Linked DNA regions of Homo sapiens: region 1 is linked to region 2. Evidence: promoter capture Hi-C in 16 types of primary human blood cells and fetal thymus (Javierre and others, 2016). All regions are on one chromosome and are shown on one strand. Each heading gives the region's core, a stretch centred on a gene start or on the middle of the fragment in contact. The rest is flanking DNA. Distances are from core to core; before and after follow the strand shown.

Region 1 (4,644 bases), core at 477-2,976, 500 kb before region 2:
CCACTTACTTACTTGGAAGAAAACAACTCAAACAGGTCTTGAATTGAGCCCTCCAAATTCATGTTTTTCAAACGCTTTAAACATTGCTCAACCTGAAAGAAGAAGAGCAGTTCAAATTCATGTGTATGTAATGCAGACAGGGTCACTGATTATGACCAGGAAAGCAAAGACTTCTAGATTTTCAAAGTATGGAAATATGCTAAATATCACAGAATACCTTATTTTTTTTCAGGGTAGAGAAATCCAAAGCGCAAGCAATTGCTTCTAGTTACAAATTTGGAATTTATCCAGCCAAACACATTTTTAAAATCAGGTGACTCCTAAGAAATTAGTATATGCCACAATGAGCTTGATGTCATAAAAGGGACCAAAACGAGTATAGGTTATTCTCAAGATTATAATTTTGCTAAGACAAGATTTTTTTTTTTTTTTTCAGATGGAGTCTCACTCTGTCGCCCAGGCTGCAGTGCAGTGGCGTGATCTCGGCTCACTGCAAGCTCCACCTCCTGGGTTCACACCATTCTCCTGCCTCAGCCTTCCAAGCAGCTGGGACTACAGGCACCCGCCACCACGCCAGGCTAATTTTTTGTATTTTTAGTAGAGACGGGGTTTCACCGTGTTTGCCAGGATGGTCTCGATCTGGACCTTGTGATCCGCCCACCTCGGCCTCCCAAAGTGCTGGGATTACAGGCATGAGCCACCGCGCCTGGCCGACAACATGATTTTTAATAGTGAAACTATTAAAACAAGATAGAAAATTATTAACTACTAAATTTCAACAGTCTATAAAGTACCACAGAGATGAGGAAAACGATTGGCTTTAATCACTGAACAAATATATTCTTTGATTAGATGAAGCTTGTTCTTATGTTCCTCTGCATCTTCTCTCTTTCTCCCTTCTCTCTCTTGGGTTTTTTTTCTCTTTTGAACCGCAGTTCACTTACTATGTTTTCCAAGTGCTTTACCATCTGGGTTTGTCAATACCTCCCTCAAAGGATGGTGTCCAGACTTGAAAACTGAAAAAGATAGGAGCTGACCCTAAAGAATTTAAGGATTGTTCCCTCCATTATTCTTGAAAACCGCTGTTAAAACAGAATCCATAACCTTGGTTCAATTTCTAGAAGTATATTTGCAGCTCTGGCAAGATACTCTTGTTGCCAGTATCAATGCCCATCCAAATTTTTGTATCTGTCTAGATGCAGTCCCATGCTGCCCTTTGTGTGTTATTCCTGAGGACTACAGAATTCCTACAGCATTTTGTACCATGCATGGCTCTTACTTTTTTTAAAAAAAATTAAAAATCCTATTGAGTGCTTACTGAACACTGTTCTAAGAACTGGATTATGGTGGTAAACAAAAGGGACAAAATACATTGCCCTTGTGGAGCTTACATTATAGCTGGGAGAGAAAGGCAGTCAATCAATGGCAGGTGGTGTTAAGTGCTATGAAGACAAATAAGGCAGAGAGGGAGTGCTGAGAAGATTGCAATTTTAAATAGGGTCTGTTTTTATTTTAGCATTTAATTAAATATTTTACATGTCTTCCTATTTTTACTACTAGATTTTTAGCAACTAGAGATAGGGAAGTTTCTAATACCACTTTATCTGCCAGCATGCCCTACATGTACTCCACAGAACAGGAATCAAAACTACTTTCTGTGTTCCATTTAGGGGAATGTTTAGAGACAGGCCAATTCTAGTACTTACATGAAAGTTCTCTGAAAACTGTGAAATATTAAGCAGTTGTAAGGCAGTAGTAGAAGTGGTAATAGCAGCTGCAGCAGTAACATAAGCATAAAACATGTTTCCTACTTCAGGGATCACATGGAATATAAAATATATACACAAATAACTTTACCATGACACAGACTATATTAAATGCTATAAGTACAAAGAGGAGGCCCAAATAGCCAAGAATTTAAAAAAAAAAAAAAAAAAGCAACTTCAGTAATAATCAGAAAAATACAACTTAAAATGAGATTACTATAACACAGATTATCACTGCCAGAAAGGCTTAAAATGGGACTTAGAGGATAGGAAGGCCTTTAACAGGCAGACATGGTGAGGCTGGGCATTCTAAACATACAGGACCAGGTAAGCAGACTCAGAAGCAGGAACAAACATAGTGAGCATGCAGGTGTGTTGAGTCCAGGTTGGCTGGAATATAATCTATCTGAACGCAAGAGAGAAGCCCGAACTAAGAAGACTGAAGAGGCCAGATCACAGATCTCGTAAGCCAAACTAAGAAGTTTGGTCTTTACTCAGGACACAATGGAGAACGACTAAAAATCAAAGTTGTGTTTTCAGATGATTAACCTGGTTTTAATATTTAGAATATGCCAGAACTTAGGAAAAGCTGAAGGAGGAAACATCAGTTATGATAGTAAGACAACTAAAAGTTGACAAGGTCTAAGAAAGGAAAATGGCAGCCAGAACTGAAGAGGGGACCAGATGCAGAGGAAGTTTTGTCTTATGGACTGCCTGGATGGGAGAGCTACGTAAGAGAGAGAGACTAGAGAATGCCAAATTTTGATGACGGGGTGATTATTCACAACCCAGAAGCTAGAAGGAGAAATATATTCACTTTGAGGGTTAGCAAGCTTGCTTTTGGATCAAAAAGACTCCGAAAAAGATAAAAGCCACCCTAGAATGGAAAATTTAGGGAAAGACCATGGTCCCAGATCTTTCTTTGATGAAATCTTCACCCTGTTTGCTTTAAGTACTAGGGGTAGAAAACTAACCAGAAAGCATGCATCTATAAGGTTAGAGACTGTGTCTACCTTTTTCACTCCTCTATACACAGCACTAAGCAGAATGCCTGGCACACAGAAAGTTCAAAAACACTTGCAAGGTAGCCCTGTCACACAATGGATAGCCTTCTGAACTTCCAGAAAATACTTGCAGAATTAAGTGAATGAATGAATGAGCATATCAGGAAGCCAGCTTAAGAGAGGCTCTACTCTATGGTATAGCCCCTGAGCTGGAGGGCCCAATTTTGTCTTAAGCTCCAAACATTACATGAAACCAGTTTACACCACAACTTGCTATGTACCCATTTACTCTAACATACCACCAATTAGATTATGTACCCCATAATAAGTAGACAAGTTTTTTTAAAAATAATTTTAGCATTCTGATTATGCCCAGGGAACTGTTTCTTAATGTCCAACATTTTGTCTTGCTCAAATCACTTTATCTTTGAGCTGGGCAAAGGCACTGTTGTTATAGATTGTATATAATGAAGAAAATGTTTACTTGCCTATTAGAAACAAGACTGGGAAAGAATCTAAACATACTTCTTTTCTAACAAAAATTACTTTTTGAAATGCTGAAATGCTTTTAGGAAAAAAAAAGAAAGTGCACATGTAACTGTGGGCTATAGGCCTATAAAACACAAGTAATTTACTGAGATTTCCACGAGATTTCCATAAATAGCAATATAGTAAGTGGCAGTGTGATCTACATTTTCAAGTGAACAGGTTGGGTCTCACCTACCGGGCTTCCTCACCTGTTTGAGGGCCAAATGGGGTTTGTGGCGGCCCATTCTGTTGTGATTGCTGTAAAGGACTGCACATAACACATCTGTTTCTGCATCTAAGGTTTGGCTCTTCAGCGACAGTATGACGAGATGGCATTCTTTAATTACAGCTGCAATGCAAAGGTCTGAAGCAGAGACATCTAATAAGATTTAGTATGTATTTCTACAGTAAGTATATTATATTAAAAACACACTAAAAAAAGCATCTTTCCTTATTTGTTTTAAAGGAATCAAAAACTAATGTAATCAGTCTCAACTGTAAGAACGTAAGGATTCTAAGTATAAGAGAAGTTGGAAAATGGTAACAGATGATATAAAGTCCAGGAAATCATTAAGAGAACATCTGTAAAACAAGAAGCTGTATCTTTGCATTGCATTTTATCATGGTTTAATAATCTTTCATATGAATACTTTGCTGTCAGTCATTTGGTGTACACTTACGCCTCATGTGTACACTTAACCCCCACCTTGAAGGTAGGGCACATGTCACAACATGTGTAATAACTCTCTAACTCCCCATGTCGCTATGCCCGAAAGCAAGACAGAATGAATAAATTCACAGTCTTCAAAATCAAGGCTTCTGTGTTTGGATATCACTTTATGAGAGACACAAACATATTCAGAAAAGAAAAACCACCACAGTAACTGGAAATCGTATTATTTGATGAACACCGGGTGCTCATCAGCAGATGCTTCCTAGTCTGAAAATCTGTAGAAGTCCCTAAGATGTAGTTCATGTGTTATTTATGGCTCTAAAGGCAGCACTAGCATTCTAAATGGAAGTAAAGGCTGGTTGCTACCTAACAAGAATTTTCTTACTGTCCCAACAACTACCTGAAGACAGAATGGGCTGCCTCGGGGATGGGTAGTGAGTTGGTGAATTTCCCAGGCCTAATAGGAGTTGTTAAAGAATTTTTGAATAGAGAAAGAGGGAAGATTAATCTGTAAAGTGTGTAGGAAGGATAGATGGGATAATCTGTAAAGTGTGTAGGATGGATATATGGGAAAGGGGATGTGATGATCTAAGTCAAGCTTGTCCAACCCGCCTTATTTTGTTGTTCTGTTCTGTTTTGTTTTAGGCTTTTTGCAGCTTAAAGCCATGGTTTT
Region 2 (5,718 bases), core at 1,770-4,269:
CTAAGCCATGTCCAAACTCACAACCCACAGAAATTGTGAAATGATAAATAGTAATTGTTTTAGGCCACTAAATCTGTGGTAATTTACTACCTGTGTACAGTAGGATAACACAGGTATAGTTAAGCTGCTATCCCATCTTTGCCCTTCTCTTGCCATCCAGCTTCATGAAAAGGTACACTTTAGCACCTGTATTTACTAATCCTTAGTTCTACCTCCAAGTTTTATTAATTACAAAAACTCTGACCCCACCTTTGCACTGAAAAGCTTTCTTTTTTTTTTTTTTTTTTTTTTGAGACGGAGTCTTGCTCTGTTACCAGGCTGGAGTGCAGTGGCACGACCTCAGCTCACTGCAACCTCCACCTCCCGGGTTCAAGCGATTCTCCTCCCTCAGCCTCCTGAATAGCTGGGATTACAGGCGCTTGCCACCATGCCCGGCTAACTTTTGTATTTTTAGTAGAAACGGGGTTTCACCATGTTGGTCAGGCTGGTCTCGAACTCCTGATCTCGTGATCTACCTGCCTTGGCCTCCCAAAGTGCTGGGATTACAGGCGTGAGCCACCACACCTGGCCTCTTCTATTCTTTTCTCCTTTTCTTCACAGGCTCTATTGTCCTCCTCCACACAAACAATTTAATCAAGGATTTCCACCCAGTTCTATCTCAGTTCTCATTCTTCTTGTCTTTCCATTAGATACCCTCTCCTTTCATTCAATAATTATTTGGGGGAGTGCAGCACACACCAGGCACTGGCTAGGCATTAGAGATACAAGTAAACAAGTAAACTAAGTAAACTAAATAAACTAAGATATTAGTAAACAAGTCTAATATGGTGCCAGCTCTCATGGAGCTGCTTTCTTGATCACAAAGGGGCAGTTCACATCCTCCCTCAGTGACCTCACCAACTCCCTTGAGCAAAGCTATGAATGTATGGACAAACAAACACACTGTGAAAATGAGTCCCAAATCAATGATTCACACCTTTCCTCAAAACTTCAAACACAGTGGCTCGCATCTGTAATCCCAGCAACTCGGGAGGCTGAGGCTGGAGGATCGCTTGAGGCAGGAAGCTCAAGACCAGCCTGTGCAACATAGCAAGACCCTGTCTCTAAAAAAAAAATTTTTTTTAATTAGCCAGGAGTGGCAGTGAGTGCCTATAGTTTCAGCTACTCAGGAGGCTGAGGTGGGAGGACTGCTTGAGCCCAGGAATTGGAGGCTGCAGTGAGCTACGATGGCGCCCCTGCACTCCAGCCTAGGTGACAAAGTGAGGCTCTGTCTCTTAAAATAAACAAACAAAAACAAAACAAAAACACCAAATGCTCATTTCTAACTACCTACTATATACATCTCCCAAATATCACAAATACAGTATATCAAAATACAGCTCATCATCATACCCCAAATCTCTACTTGCTGATATATAACTGGTTGACTCGATAAATATGTTCAATTAAGCTGAATTTACAGAATTACAATCCTAGTTGCTCCAATTTAAAACCTCAGCATCACCTCTGTTCCTTATCTCTTAGTGAATCAGATAACAGAATCTATTAACTTTTTCCCTAAAAATCTCTCTTGCCCGCTCTTCTCCATCTCTACTAAAAATATTTTTGTTCAGGCTCTCATTATTCTAATTAGTCTCCCTTTCACTCTTCACTCACTGACTTCATCATCCATCTATTAATGTAACTAATATTTTGAAGCACCATCTAAAAGCGAGGCACCAGATATAACAAGAAAGTAGAATAGTCTATGCCCTTGCAGAGTTAAGAGTTTCTAAGAGGACCGCAATTAAACAAGTATTTACAACAAAAGGGCAGCATGGGAAGTAAATTCTGTGTGCCATGAAAGTACCTAACTAACTCTATGCAGTAAGTAAAAGCTTCTCCTCTCTGTAATACCCCCAAAAATGTTTGCACTGAGAGCTAAAATACGAATAAAAGTTAGAAGCAGGGGAAAGAATATTCCAGGCAAGGGAAAATGCATTTACGAAGAGTTTGAGAAGTTCAGTTCAATTAACAAAGATCTGAGAGGGTGAGAGGTTAAAGGAAGAAAGGCAGACAGCAGATTGTAGTCTTGTGAGCCACAGCAATCTGAACACCTAAGACCATAGGAAACCACTGAAGAATTTTAAAAGGGATAGTTATGACTGGACTTAGTAAATCCACTCTGACTGGTGTGGAAAACTGATCAAAGAGAAACAAGAACTCTTTCCAAACACTGTTGAATCAATCCTACCTAAATACATGGATAGAGAATAGATCTGAACCCTTTACCTACTTCCTCTAGATTCGGATGGCTCCCCACTGTCAAAAGCAATCCAACTCAGCTTGGCATTCAGACCCTCTCCCCCATATGGCCCGGCTGACTTTTCTTTCCAGTGTTCTCTCACATCTCCCGCAAATCCTAAAACCAAGCTCTCGCCTCACACACAGTTGCAACCATTCTTTTCCCTCTGCTTGGAACACTCATTAGGCTCACTCTCTTCTCTACTGGGTTAACTTCCACGGACTCCTCAAAACTCACAGGAGGAGCCTTCTGAGAAGCCCCTCTGACATCCATCGATTTAAATGACGCTCCCGGTCCCAAAGCACCCTGGATAGTTTGCCTCTCTCCTGCTACACGGTGAACTCCCCCAACGCTACAATCGAGCACCCCCAATTACCAGCTCTGTGCAAAAGCTCCCGAAAGCGGTGCGCACGCGCATACTCGAGGTGCTCTGGCGCCACGCACAAACATACCCAGACACGCACCCTGACACGTACTTGCACTCTCAAAACACAGAGCCGCGGCTGCGCTTCCTGAAGTAAGGATTCCCCAACCGGGCGCCTGGATCCCAGGCAACAGACAGATGCCACCACCGTTCTCCCCACCCTTTTGGTAGCCCTGGTCCCTAAGGCTCGTTGGGACTGCGAGCTGCAAGCCTCAGATCCATCATCTCAACCTGCCTTGCAGTCGGTCCCGACTGCCGCCGCCACCGCAGCTAAAACTTCAGGCGCCGGAACCGCGGAGCGCGCCACAGGTTAACCCAGCCAGCGGCTTCCGGGCTGTTGCCTGGGTTACCAGAGCTCCGCCCCACGCCCTTGCGTATATCCGGCGAGCCCAGTGCGCAGGCGCCTCCCAAAGCCTATCTCGGGTCCTGAGTCTAAGGGAGAGAGGTTCCTCTGCAAGGTTCAGGGCAAATTATTAAAGAATAGGTATATAGCAGGCCGGGCGCGGTGGCTGACGCCTGTAATCCCAGCACTTTGGGAGGCCGAGGCAGGCGGATCACGAGGTCAGGAGATCGAGACCATCCTGGCTAACACGGTGAAACCCCGTCTCTACTAAAAATACAAAAAATTACCCGGGCCAGGTGGCGGGCGCCTGTAGTCCCAGCTACTCGGGAGGCTGAGGCAGGAGAATGGCGTGAACCTGGGAGGTGGAGGTTGCAGTGAGCCGACATGGCGCCACTGCAGTCCGGCCTGGGCGAAAGAGCGAGACTCCGTCTCAAAAAAAAAAAAAAAAAAAAAAGAATAGGCATATAGCATTAGCCGGTGCCTCGAGAATTCTCCAAAAGAAAGATGTTGCTCTCCTCACCAGACTTCACATATCACTTAATTTGCTTTCATCTCTATTCATTTGTTTACAAATCTTTAGTAGTGGAATCCCAGCACTTTTGGAGACAGAAGCAGAAGGATTGCTTAAGCTCAGGAGTTTGAGACAAGCATGGGCAAGATGGCGAAACCCCGTCTCTACGAAAAATTAAAAAATTAGCTGGGCGTGGGAACACGCCTGTAGTTCCAGCTACTCAGGAAGCTGAGGTGCGAGGATCGCTTGAGCCAAGGAGGGCAAAGCTGTAGTGAGCCACAGTCATACCACTTCACTCCAGCCTGGACGACAAAGCAAGACCTTGTCTCAAAAAAAAAAAAAAAAGTTGTTTATTACAACCTACAAATGTGCGGGAGAGCTAGGTTCTATGGGGCTAAAAACAGGCAAGGTGGGAAACTTACAGCATATTAACAGACAGTTATCAATGACAAAAACATTAAAATTATGACGAGTGCTAAGAAGGAAGCACTCTAACCAAATACTTAGCTTATTATTATAGTAATATTTGAATTACTCAGGAAAGCTCAGACATGAATAGGCCAGTGGGGAAGGGGAAAGCATTCCTGCAGAGGGAGCTGCATGTGCAAAGATGTGGAAAATGCAAGGGACAGGAAGAGGTCCAGTGTGTCTGAAGTTTAGAGAACAGTGGGAACTTGCTGTGAAGGGGAGGCGCCCTGATAGGCTGGATCCACGACAGTCAGAGCTGCGTGGACCACGTTAAGAACTTTACAAAGCACTTGATTCAAAAACAGAGTTTATTTGCTCTGGTAAGACAATTTCCTCTAGCCCCTTGCTTTCTGCTGTTACAATACACCCATGTGTGGTCTGCAAATACATGCCCAAAACCTTCTAGAGGAAAGGTACTGCCTTTAATAGTTTTCACTCTGATTGAGGAAGTTTGATGTAGATATATTTAATAATCAACAATCATCCACTTGCTTGCATCCTCAACTCCCTGCCCCTCTCTAAATTGCTGTAATCACTTGGCAAAATGACCATATTAGCCATCCCTACTTTACACTTACTAAGTGCTTGCACCCATGCAGCTGAATCTGAAAAAAAACACCCAATCATGCTGACTTTAAATTCATGATTACTGATGTTAAGTAGGACCTTAAAGATGCTTGAACATCTCATTACAGGTCCCTGTTCATTGATTTTCCTACATATTAGTTTTATACCTTCATTCATACCCAATGCCTTGTCTCCTATCCTCATTCTCACACAATGACCTTGCTTCCTACTGCATTGATTACACTGAATTATTCAAAAGAGAACTTCCCTAAGCTCCCATCATTATTTTAATCCTTCTGTCACTATCTTTACCCACAGACCTGCCTTCAGAAGCTCAGCATAAGAAATATGAAGAAAGCTAATCAAAATACTTCATAATCAAATTGCTCAGAACGAGTGATAAAAGAATCTTAAAAGCATCCAAGGAAAAAAATACATGTCGTATACAGCAGAACAAAACTAAGGATTACATCAGTTTCTCATTAGAATCAAAACAAGCAAGAAGACAGAATAACAGTTCAAACATATTCAAAGAAAAAAAGCTATCAACCTAGAATCCTTATACTATTCCTTTTTTTTTTTTTTTTAAGACAAAGTCTCACTCTGTCACCCAGGCTGGAGTGCAGTGGCACGATCTCGGCTCACTGCAACCTCCACCTCCCAGGTTCAAACAATTCTCCTGCCTTAGCCTCCGGAGTAACTGGGACTACAGGAACACACCACCATACTCAGCTAATTTTTGTATTTTTAATAGAGACGGGGTTTCTCCATGTTGGTCAGGCTAGTCTTGAATTCCTGACCTCAGGTGATCTGCCCGCCTTGGCCTCCCAAAGTGCTGGGATTACAGGTGTGAGTCACCGCGCCTGACCCTTATACTATTCCTGATACCACTTAAAGGTAGACTATGATAAAATAAAGATGTATACTATAAACCCTAAAGCCGCCACTAAATAATAAAAGTTATTGTTAAAAGCTTACAAAAGTCATGTAAAGGATAACGAAACAAATACTTGATTAATCTAAAAGTATAAAACAAGAAAAAACAAAGAAAAGAGAGAAGTAGGAAAGAAATTGCAAGATGATAGACTCATAAATCATATTAAATGTAAATTGTCTAAACA

Evidence for each region. Contacts are between HindIII fragments. The CHiCAGO score rates a contact against its expected background, and 5 or more counts as called.
Region 1: a fragment that was not itself captured here is called in contact with the fragment with the promoter of SPICE1 in region 2 in 1 of 17 cell types (fetal thymus); the score reaches 6.7 in fetal thymus.

What each region holds. Positions count from the first base shown.
Region 1 is chr3:113,013,941-113,018,584 of GRCh38, forward strand. RMP64 (ribonuclease MRP subunit p64) reads right to left here. Exons shown (of 9, transcript NM_015412.4): 2 at 3,508-3,662; 3 at 13-92. Among named protein-coding and RNA genes, the nearest start is that of NEPRO-AS1, 3.3 kb to the right of the region's middle. The HindIII fragment of the contact is 1,741 bases long and covers 857-2,597 here.
Region 2 is chr3:113,512,137-113,517,854 of GRCh38, forward strand. It overlaps SPICE1 (spindle and centriole associated protein 1), which reads right to left and starts at 3,020. Exons shown (of 18, transcript NM_144718.4): 1 at 2,761-3,020. It overlaps SPICE1-CFAP44 (SPICE1-CFAP44 readthrough (NMD candidate)), which reads right to left and starts at 3,020. Exons shown (of 52, transcript NR_183050.1): 1 at 2,761-3,020. RefSeq lists enhancers at 2,707-2,826, 2,887-2,936, 3,643-3,692, 4,203-4,252, 4,313-4,362. The HindIII fragment of the contact is 3,693 bases long and covers 1,876-5,568 here.